3 separate regions of the Homo sapiens genome follow, and all the other regions are linked to region 1. Evidence: promoter capture Hi-C in 16 types of primary human blood cells and fetal thymus (Javierre and others, 2016). All regions are on one chromosome and are shown on one strand. Each heading gives the region's core, a stretch centred on a gene start or on the middle of the fragment in contact. The rest is flanking DNA. Distances are from core to core; before and after follow the strand shown. Region 1 holds the start of LLGL1 (LLGL scribble cell polarity complex component 1). Region 2 overlaps SHMT1 (serine hydroxymethyltransferase 1). Region 3 overlaps MYO15A (myosin XVA).

Region 1 (3,315 bases), core at 1-2,500:
AGTCAGCTGAAACCAGGAAAGGGCTTTGAACAGCGCCTGCCCCGCAGTAGACACTTAGGGGCTTTACTGTCGTCATTCTCCCTCCTCTCACCTCCTCACTCACTCCTGGGCCCTCTTCCGGATCCAGCCCCAAATACGGGGAAGGGCTGAACACCGCCGGCCTGGCGTGGGTGGAGGGGGACAGCCAGGCCCCAAGGCTTGGCAGCCGCCTCGGGCTCAGAGGTCAGCTCCTGCTCCCTGGACACAGCTGGTGGGGTTGGGGCCTGTCCTACCTGCCCCACCTAAGCTTCTAGGACCTCCCGCAGCCCCAGCCCTGAGCCAGGCGGCCTATCCTCAGCCTGGAAGGAAAGGTTCAGCCTCGAGGCCATTGTCCAGATGAGAAAAGGCCTGGGAGGTGGGTGGGGACAGGCAGACGGCCCCTGAGAGTAGGGGCAGGGCTAAGCTTTGTTCAGACGCTGTTCTCTGCGGGGGGAGGTCCTTCCCCCATCTCCGTAAAGCTCCAATCCAACCCCAGAACAGTCCCAAATGCCACCTCCTGGGGATCCCGTCTCTTTCTTTGGCTAAGAAAGAATCCCCTGTGCTGTGACACAGAGCCTTTTGCGTTGGGTCCTGAAAGATGTGTAGGAGTTCCCCAGGGGCTGGGGGTGAGGAAAGAATTCCTGACTACAAAGCCAAGGCAAAAGCACGGCGGTGGGAGGTGCTCTGACAGAGCGGGGAACAGACGAAATGGAGTTCTGTGAAATTGGTAAAATATAAACTTGGCAATCACTTGACCAATGGTGTAGATGGGGAAACTGAGGCGCAGAGGGGCCAGGGAGTTGTTCCAGTCAGAGCTGTCTTGGCTTTCGGAACAGGGCTGCCCCATTACATGAGTGGGCACGTCGCTCGCTCTCTGGGAGGAGGAAAAAGTCTCCTCCAAGCCCGGGAACGTGCGCCAATCCCCCTCCAAAGCGCTTCCCCAGCCGCCCGCGCTGGAGCCCCGGCTCATGGACTACAAGTCCCGGCAGGCCCCGCGCCGCGGCGCATGCTAGGCGGGCGTCCCTTCGCGAGCCCGGCCGAGCCCGGGGGCCCAGTTCACCATTGTCTGGCCAACAGGGGCGGGGCGGGCGGCACGGCGGGCTCGCTCACTGGTCGGGCGGCGCGTCCGTCGCGCCCGGCGCCCACCCCCGTGCAGGCCCGGCCCCGCGCGCCCGCGCCCGGGCCGCCTGGCGCCCCGCCCGCGCCTTAGGACCCGCGGGGCCGCGCGGCGCATCCTGCGGGCGGCGGCGGCGGGCGAGGCGCCTGCAGCCGGGCGCAAGATGATGAAGTTTCGGTTCCGGCGGCAGGGCGCCGACCCGCAGCGCGAGAAGCTCAAGCAGGAGCTTTTCGCCTTCAACAAGGTGCGGCGGCGGCCCGGGCCCGGGCTCGGGCGGGAGGGGGCGGGACGGGGGCCTGGGCTGGGGGCCCGGGGTCGGAGCCACGTCGGGCCCGGGGGGCGGGGGCTGGCATGCAGCGCGGCGCGGGGCGGGGCCGGGCCGGGCCGCGCACCCCCTCGGCGGGCCCCGCTCTGGCTCGGACTCTGGGTGGGTCTGGGTCTCCGGCCGACTTTCCGTGTCTGCTCCCCGAGTCTCTGCGGGCCGCTCTGGCCCTGGCTCTGCCAGTCTGTGTGTGTGGGGGTCTGTCTCTGAGACTCTTTGCCTGTCTCTGGGTCTCTGTCCCTCTTTCTCCGCCGCTGACCGGCTGTCTCGCCCCAGTTGTGCCTGTGTGTGTGGTGGGGGTGTCTCTGCCTCTGCCCCTTCCTATCTCTGCCTGTCTCCCTTTATCTCTCTGCCTCTCATTTCTCTTGCTGCCTGTGCGTCTCTGAGTCTTCTTTGCCTGTCTCTCCCTGCGTGTCTCTCTCTCTGTCTCTGTGGAGTCTCTCGACCTCTGTCGCTCACTTCTGTCTCTTTATCCTTTTTCTTAGGGGCTCCATTGCGTCCCTGCTCGGCCCTTGGGACAGCCCTGGGGCCCGGTTTGTTTTGTGCTTTGGCACCCAGGAGGGTGAGAGAGTTAGTGGGGGCGAGGCAGCTGTGGGGGGTGCGGCTGGGAAATCCCTTCAAGGAGCCTCTCCTTCCTTCCCCCACTGCTCCAGGCTCTGCCTTGCCCTGCTCTGCCCTGCCCGGGGCTCCGAGTCCAGGGGACATGCCTGGCTGTGTACTACACTGCACTTCGCATCGTGGGGCCTCAGTTTCCCTAGCTGTGAAATGAGGCTACTTTTCTCCATACTGTGGGCCCTGGCTCCCTCTGCCACATGGGCCAGCTGTCCTGCCTTTCTGCACCAAGGTGGAGTGAGGTGGAGGCTTTTCCTTCCTTTCCCGGAGTGGGACACTAGGGGCCAGGGAAAGGGGCCGCCTCAGCCCCCGCCTCCCTCTGCACTGATGTTAGAGCAGGGCCTCAGCCCACTCCTGGCTCACTGCTCTGGGGACGTTGGTTTTGTCCTCATTCTTACCCCAGAGCCCACTGATGGCAGAGCCTCTCAGTGCTCTTCGAAATTAGAGTTATCTTCAAAATACAGGTGAGAAAATTGAGGTTCTGAGAGGGGTGACGGCTTGCCCGGAGTCAGAGTGAGCTGCACCAATATCTTTCTTGAGTTCTTGTGTCAGTGGGGTTGGATTTTAGCCTTGAGGGGCAGGGATTTTTCCAAGGGGCTGCTGTGGTCCTGGGCCAGTGTTGTGCCAGGCGCCCTGGGCTGCCTTGAGGAGACACTTGTCTTGGAGGAGGCTCTGGGACGGCTGGACCTGGAGTAGTGGAGGCACTGGGATGTCTCAGGGTTTCCCTGCCTAGGTCTGCAGTGATTGCCGATGAGAGCTGCCAGGACCCTCACACGGTGGCTGAGAACCTGCTAGGAACCTGAGAGGGGCCCAGAAGGGAAGCTGGTGCTCCGTGGTCCCCAGATGGCACCTATTTTCTGTGCCGGGGAGGCTGTGAGGGTGAGGTGAGAGGAGAATGGCCCTTCAGGGAAAGGCAGCAACAGGCACAGGGCTAAATGTCACTTTTTTTTTTTTGAAATGGGGTCTCACTCTCACCCAGGCTGGAGTGCAGTGGCACAATCACAGTCCACTGCAGCCTCACAACTCCCTGGCTCAGGTGATCCTCCCATCTCAGCCTCCTGAAGCTGGGACTACAGGCTCGTGTCACCATGCCCGGCTAGTTTTTGTATTTTTTGTAGAGATGGGGTTTCACCATGTTGCCCAGGCTGGTCTCGAACTCCTGGGTTCAAGCTATCTATCCATCCATGTTGGCTTCCCAAAGTGCTAGGATTACAGACATGAGCTGCCATGCCTGGCCTAAATGTCA
Region 2 (3,315 bases), core at 545-3,044, 120 kb after region 1:
TGTAGCCACAATTACCGGAAAAAAAAAAAAAAAAAAAAAAGCCTGTGCTGCTTTCTCCCTTTTTAATTTAATGGGTTTTTCAAAGGTTTTTCTTTTCTTTTTTTAATCTTGAAAATGAGACAAGAGAACAACTCCTAGAAGAATTCATAGGCATTTATAATAAACTGCAGATGGGGTCCACAGTGCACAGAGGATAAGGAAGGAGACCCCAGCAGTCACTTAGGACCAGGGACAGGGAGGAATTCTCGAGTCACAGTGGGGATGGGCCAAAAACACAAAATAGAAGGTTAATGTTGCTGTTGCTCTAGCCTGGCCCTGCGTGGGGCTCTTGCAGTGGAGTGGGGCAGGGGCTGAAGGTGGAGGCAGGCGGTCTGGTGAAGGCTGGGCAGGGCAGTGGCCCTGGGACACCCCCTAACCTCCAACTCTGCAGCCCGGTGGGGTGGAGGTGAGCTGCCTCTGGCTGCTGATGAATGCCAATAAGGTCTGTCTCCTCCTCCTGTCCGCCAAGGGCAGGACTCAAATCACCCCCACAGCGGGTGAGCTGCACCTCCTGCTGCCCAAGCTGGCCAGGGTCCCAGGCCCCACCTCTCCATGCCCATCCTGAGGTGGGTCCCCTCACTGCACCCACAGGACTGCAGCCTGCACAATGTACATCAAAGACGGGGGTGGCTGGAGGGAACTGGGTGCGGGACGCAGATTCTTTCTTTTTTTTTCTGGAGATGGAGTCTTGCTCTGTCACCTAGGCTGGAGTGCACTGGTGCAATCTTGGCTCACTGCAACCTCCGCCTCCCAGGTTCAAGTGGTTCTCCTGCCTCAGCCTCCTGAGTAGCTGGGATTACAGGTGCCCGCCACCACGTCCAGTTAATTTCTGTATTTTTAGTAGAGAAGGCTTTCACCATGTTGGCCAGGCTGGTCTCGAACTCCTGACCTCGGATGATCCGCCCACTTCGACCTCCCAAAGTGCTGGGATTACAGGAGTGCACCACCATGTATTTTTAGTAGAGACGGGGTTTCACTGTGTTGGCCAGGCTGGTCTTGAACTCCTGACCTCATGATCCGCCTGCCTCAGCCTCCCAAAGTGCTGGGATTACAAGCGTGAGCAACTGCACCCTGCCTTTCTTATTTATTTATTTTTTTTGAGATGGAGTTTCACTCTTGTCGCCCACTCTGGAGTGCAATGGAGCAATCTTGGCTCACTGCAACCTCCGCCTCCCAGGTTCAAGCAATTATCCCTCCTCAGCCTCCTGAGTAGCTGGAACTACGGGTGTGCACCACCACACCTGAGGAATTTTTTGTATTTTTAGTAGAGACAGGGTTTGAACATGTTGGCCAGGCTGGTCTCGAACTCCTGACCTCAGGTGATCTGCCCACCTCAGCTTCCCAAAGTGCTGTGATTACAGGTGTGAGCCACCGAGCCCAGCCAAGACAAACTATTTTGTTACTATTGTGACATGTTTCAAAATCTAGCTTCAAGGCTGGCCTTGGCCAATGAGGAGATCTGTGACTGCAAACACCTAGGTGTTCTGTGAAAAGAAATGACTGCAAAAAAGAGCACACGTGCAATCACCAGCACTGAGACAAAGGCTGAGTACACACAGAACCATGGACAGCATGCACCCAAGACCATGCAATGCCAGCCAAGCAGAAGGATGCAGTGCTACCTTTTTTCATGGTAACAAACATGAAACTAAGCAGGAATGGCACATTTATTAATAAAGAACATGAAAAGATGGTTCCGGGACACTAGAAAGAATCACCAACACTGGACACTAAAAGAAAAAGCAAGTTACCTCTTCTTCCCATTATCCTTCGTTTTTATAGATAAATCACCATGCCTGAATAAGCCCACACATCTTACAGGCATTTTTTGACCCAACTGTTTATACAGACGGGTCCCACGAAAAACAAGTATTTGCCTGGGGCCCTGCACACCCTAGAGGCAGCACTTGGCACTGGTTCTGATGGTGTTGGTTCCACTGCTGGGCTGGCTGCGTTATCAGGTATGTGCAGTGGGGTGGCAATGGCAATGGGGTGTACACCTGAGCCATACAGGTGCTCCTCAACTTATGGGGTTACATTCCAATAAGCTCATCATTAAGCTGAAAATATCATAAAGTCAAAAATGCATGTAATATACCTAACCTACCAAACATCACAACCTAGTCTGGCCTACCTTAAACATGCTGAGGACACTGTGGTACCCTCCACTGGGCAAGATAGTCAAACACAAACCTTATTTTATAATACGGTGTTGACTATCTCATGTAATCTACTGAATACTGTACTGAAACTGAAAAGCAGAATGGTCGTATGGGGGGCTTGAAGTACAGCTAATAACGCATGTCACTTTTGCACTATCCTAAAGTTGAACGCCCTAAGTCAAACCACTGTCTGTTCCTCTGTAGCCACTATACACAGGCAGGGGCTAGCCCTAACGTGGCCATGGAGGACTGTGGCTGTGGATGGTGCCGGGCTGCTGGTTTTGGTGCTGGAGCTGGGGACGTTGCCATGCCTGTAGCTACTGCATCCTTGTGCTGCTGCTGGCCCACAGGGGCTCCGAGCAGAGATGTCACCAGGCGAGGGCAGAGCTGCAGAGGTGGTGGCTGTTGCTGGGGTCCAACTGTAGTGACCTGGTTGCTATTCCCCAGGGTTGCTATTCCAAGCAGTTGCCACTGCCCCTGCCACATCTGAACTCTCCTCAGTAGTTGCCTCCCTCACTGGTTTCCCTGTGGCCTCAGCTCAGACCCTCGTCTCTCCATCCCAGCTGCCCCAGCGGGTCCTGAAAACCTGAGGAGTCCCCGCTGCAAGGAAATTAAAAACGGTGCGAGGTGGGGACTTCCTGTAGTGACACATAAACCAAACTTACCCCTGCAGGCACAGCCAAGCATCAGAGGTTTCCCAAGGAAATAAAAGCTAGGAGAGAAACACATGCTTACCTTGTAGGGCATAGATTCAAAGAAGATGGACGTGGCAGAGATTTTCTTCTTGTCTGTCATGAACCCATGGGTCAGGTGGCCCCCATCCGGAAGGTCCAGGCCCATGATGCGCCCATGGGGTTCCACCAGGGCAGTGTACACAGCAAAGTTTGCAGGGGAGCCTGAAACGAGTGGACCAGAGGAGACATGATTATTTCTAACTGAGGTACCAAGTGGCATCCGGGACCTTGGCCACTAAGCCTTCACCCAGGAGTGGCGAGAACAGGCCTTGTACCTTCCCTGAGCTCCAGGAGGTGCCCCTTCACCACCAGCCTTGAGAGGTGAAGTTCAGAGAGAGGGCACTGCCTGGGAGGGGGTATAGAGCTGGGAGCCCAAGGGT
Region 3 (3,315 bases), core at 413-2,912, 93 kb before region 1:
GGTCATCTCTCATAAAGGGAGGTCCTTGGGAAGGCTCATGTCTGGGTGTCCCCAGCTATGCCCCCCACCCAGGCCCCCAGAACAGTGCCTAGCCCCTCAATTCCCACATCTCCTTCTGGAGTCCAGATCCTGGAGGCAACACCCCTCTTGGAGTCCTTCGGTAATGCCAAAACCGTCAGGAACGACAACTCCAGCCGCTTTGGGAAGTTTGTGGAAATCTTTCTGGAAGGGTGAGTTGGGACAGTGGAGGGCCTCCCAAAAGCCTTGCAGTGTCTTCCATGTCCTGCCACAGCCCCTCGGAGCCAACACCAGCCCTCCTACCCTCACTGAGAGCTGACTGTGCTCCCCACCCCAGGGGCGTGATCTCTGGTGCCATAACCTCCCAGTACCTGCTTGAGAAATCCAGGATCGTGTTTCAGGTGGGCCACCCCCTCCCAGGCCTCTGTGTTGGGCAGGGTCGGGGTGGGAGGTACAGATACTCAGAGCCTGGCCCCTGGTAGGGCTAGGTAGACGTCAAATTAATGAACGAATACATGCGTACATGTGTACATGTGAGCCCAGGACCTCCCCTCCCCGACCCTCCTCCAGCCACGGTGGCTCCTCCCTGCCCCGCAGCACACAGGCACGCTCCTGCCAGGGCCTTTGCACCTTCTGTTCCTTCCCTCAGGAGCACTTATCCTTCAGGCACCTGCTTGGCCAAACCCCTCACCTCCTCCAAGTCTCCCCTACAATTTCACCCACTCAGGAAGCTCCCCATTTAAAAACGCAGCCCCTCTCCATCCCATCAGAGCCCCTACCCCGTCCACTGCTTTATTTCTCTCCAGTGTACTTTTCCCTGTCTCATATATTTTATGTTTTAAGCAGTTATTTGCTGAGTGTCTGTCTCCCTAGCTAGCAGGTGGGCTCCATCAGGTCAGGGGCTTCTCTCTACGTTGTTCCCCACTATGTCCCAAGGGCCTAGGACAGGGCTTGGTGCACAGGAAGTGCTCAGCCATCAAGAAGCTCTGTGTGTGCACATGTGGGCTATGGACACACATGTATGCAGGTGTGTGTGGCCGGTACACATAAGAGAAGACGGGTCCCTTTTCTCTTATTTCTCCTAACCAAATAAAATCCCACCAGAACCCTCTCAAACTTCAATCATACCAGGGCACCTCTGCTTCTGCCCTCACCCGCAGCTGGCACCAGGCTGGGAGCCTCACCCATCACAGAGGCGCGTGTTCTCATCTGCAGCCCACTGTGTGCATGTGCACTTGTGGGCAGGCTTGGGCTTGTATGTGTGCCTGGGGGTCACCTAGGTAGGTGGCTCCCTTCTCTGTGCCCACCTACCCACTCTACAGGCCAAAAACGAGAGGAATTACCACATCTTCTACGAGTTGCTGGCCGGGTTGCCTGCCCAGCTCAGGCAGGCCTTTAGCCTGCAAGAGGCTGAGACCTACTACTATCTGAACCAGGTGAGTGCCAGCAGGCATCTGAAGGCCCCTGGCCCTGGTCCTCCCACCCCGACGCCCCTGGCTGGGCCTTGGGAGCCGAGTTGTGAGTGATGGAGTGTGAAGGTGAAGGAGATTTGGGGAGGGTGAGTTTGGATTTAAGACATCTCATGGCAGTGAGGGGGACCAGGAGTCTTCTGGGTCCAAAGCGGAAGCAGGAAAGGCCTACCTGACTTCATTTCTCTGGAACCTGGAACAGAACCAACCAGTCTAGAGTTTCTACACTTCCCCTCTCTGTGCCTCAGTTTCCTCACCTGTAAAATGGGGACAACATAGTACCACTTTGCAGGGATGTAGTGAGGCTTAGATGAGGAAACGCATGTAAAGAGCTTAGCACAGGGCCTGGCATGCAGTACATGCTCAGTAAACACTTGCTACTCTTTTCATTACTATCACTGGGCAGCTGCAAAGGTCAACAGGTGACAACCCCTGCCACACATTGCACTTAGAATCTATGAACTCCGTCCTCAGCCGTGCTCAGAGCCTCCGTGCCCATGAGAGTGAAATGACAGCTTGAGTGACCAACTCAGGCCACCACACTACTGGTCAGGGCAGAGCAGGACCTGGAGGGCTCCCCAGCCCCACCCAAGCTCCCTGACCCTCAGCCTCTGCCCTCATGCAGGGTGGGAACTGTGAGATAGCAGGAAAGAGCGATGCAGATGACTTTCGCCGGCTCCTGGCTGCCATGGAGGTGTTGGGCTTCAGCAGTGAGGACCAGGACAGCATCTTCCGCATCCTGGCCTCCATCCTGCACCTGGGCAACGTCTACTTTGAGAAGTATGAGGTGAGGGGACGCCACAGCCTGCCATGGGGCCCGCACCCTCTGGACTTGGCCGTCTTTTCCAAGGCCTTCTCTGTTTCCCTTTCAGATTACACTATGCACATATCACTTGTTCCTGTTTTTTTCTTTTTTCCTTTGGGGTTGTTCATCTTTTTCCTCCTTATATATATTAAGGAAATCAGCCCTTTGTGTCTGATATGAATTGCAAATATATATTCCAGTTTGTCATTTATGTTTTAACTTTGTTTACAATGTTTTTTGGTGGGTTTTTATTGGCGGGGAGGGGTCTCACTCTGTCACCCAGGCTGGAGTGCAATGGCGCAGTCTTGGCTCACTCCTGTTGGCTCACTGCAACCACCGCCTCCCAGGCTCAAGTGATTCTCCTGCCTCAGCCTCCCGACTGCCTGGGATTACAGGCACACACCACTACCGCCCCACTAATTTTTGTATTTTTAGTAGAGACGGGGTTTCACCATGTTGGCCAGGCTGGTCTTGAACTCCTGACCTCAAATGATCCACCGGCCTCGGCCTCCCAAAATGCTGGGATTATAGGCATGAGCCACCGCGCCCAGCCCTTTGGTGTTTATTTTATTTTATTTTATTTTTATTTATTTATTTTTTCTTTGAGATGGAGTCTCGCCCTGTCGCCAGGCTGGAGTGCAGTGGCGCAATCTCGGCTCATTGCAACCTCTGCCTCCCAGGTTCAAGCGATTCCCCTGCCTCAACCTCCTGAGTAGCTGGGACTACAGGTGTGTGCCACCACATCCAGCTAATTTTTGTATTTTTAGTAGAGATGGGGTTTCATCATGTTGGCCAGGATGGTCTCGCTCTCTTGACCTCGTGATCCGCCCACCTCGGCCTCCCAAAGTGCTGGGATTATAGCCGTGAGCCACCGTGCCCCGGCCTGTTGGGTTTTTTATGCAAATTGTTTTAAAATTATTTTTAGATAGTTCATTTATCAATATTTTCTAGTACATTTAAATTTTATATTTGAAATTTTAAACTTTTTCATTTTTGGAGAAACTTCCTAAAATTGTAACAGCC

The links. The method cuts DNA at HindIII sites, captures the fragments that hold promoters and counts their contacts. A CHiCAGO score of 5 or more calls a contact.
Region 2: a contact is called between a fragment that was not itself captured here and the fragment with the promoter of LLGL1 in region 1, in 1 of 17 cell types (endothelial precursors). The highest score is 6.5, in endothelial precursors.
Region 3: a fragment that was not itself captured here is called in contact with the fragment with the promoter of LLGL1 in region 1 in 1 of 17 cell types (M2 macrophages); the score reaches 5.1 in M2 macrophages.

The regions. Positions count from the first base shown.
Region 1 is chr17:18,224,385-18,227,699 of GRCh38, forward strand. It overlaps LLGL1 (LLGL scribble cell polarity complex component 1), which reads left to right and starts at 1,251. Exons shown (of 23, transcript NM_004140.4): 1 at 1,251-1,379. The coding sequence starts at 1,299. RefSeq lists silencers at 913-1,392, 1,543-1,712. The HindIII fragment of the contact is 4,006 bases long and covers 441-3,315 here.
Region 2 is chr17:18,344,560-18,347,874 of GRCh38, forward strand. It overlaps SHMT1 (serine hydroxymethyltransferase 1), which reads right to left. Exons shown (of 12, transcript NM_004169.5): 5 at 2,937-3,097. Among named protein-coding and RNA genes, the nearest start is that of MIR6778, 5.3 kb to the left of the region's middle. The HindIII fragment of the contact is 4,313 bases long and covers 1-3,315 here.
Region 3 is chr17:18,131,113-18,134,427 of GRCh38, forward strand. MYO15A (myosin XVA) reads left to right here. Exons shown (of 66, transcript NM_016239.4): 9 at 127-230; 10 at 356-419; 11 at 1,341-1,454; 12 at 2,113-2,274. Among named protein-coding and RNA genes, the nearest start is that of MYO15A, 24 kb to the left of the region's middle. The HindIII fragment of the contact is 6,162 bases long and covers 1-3,315 here.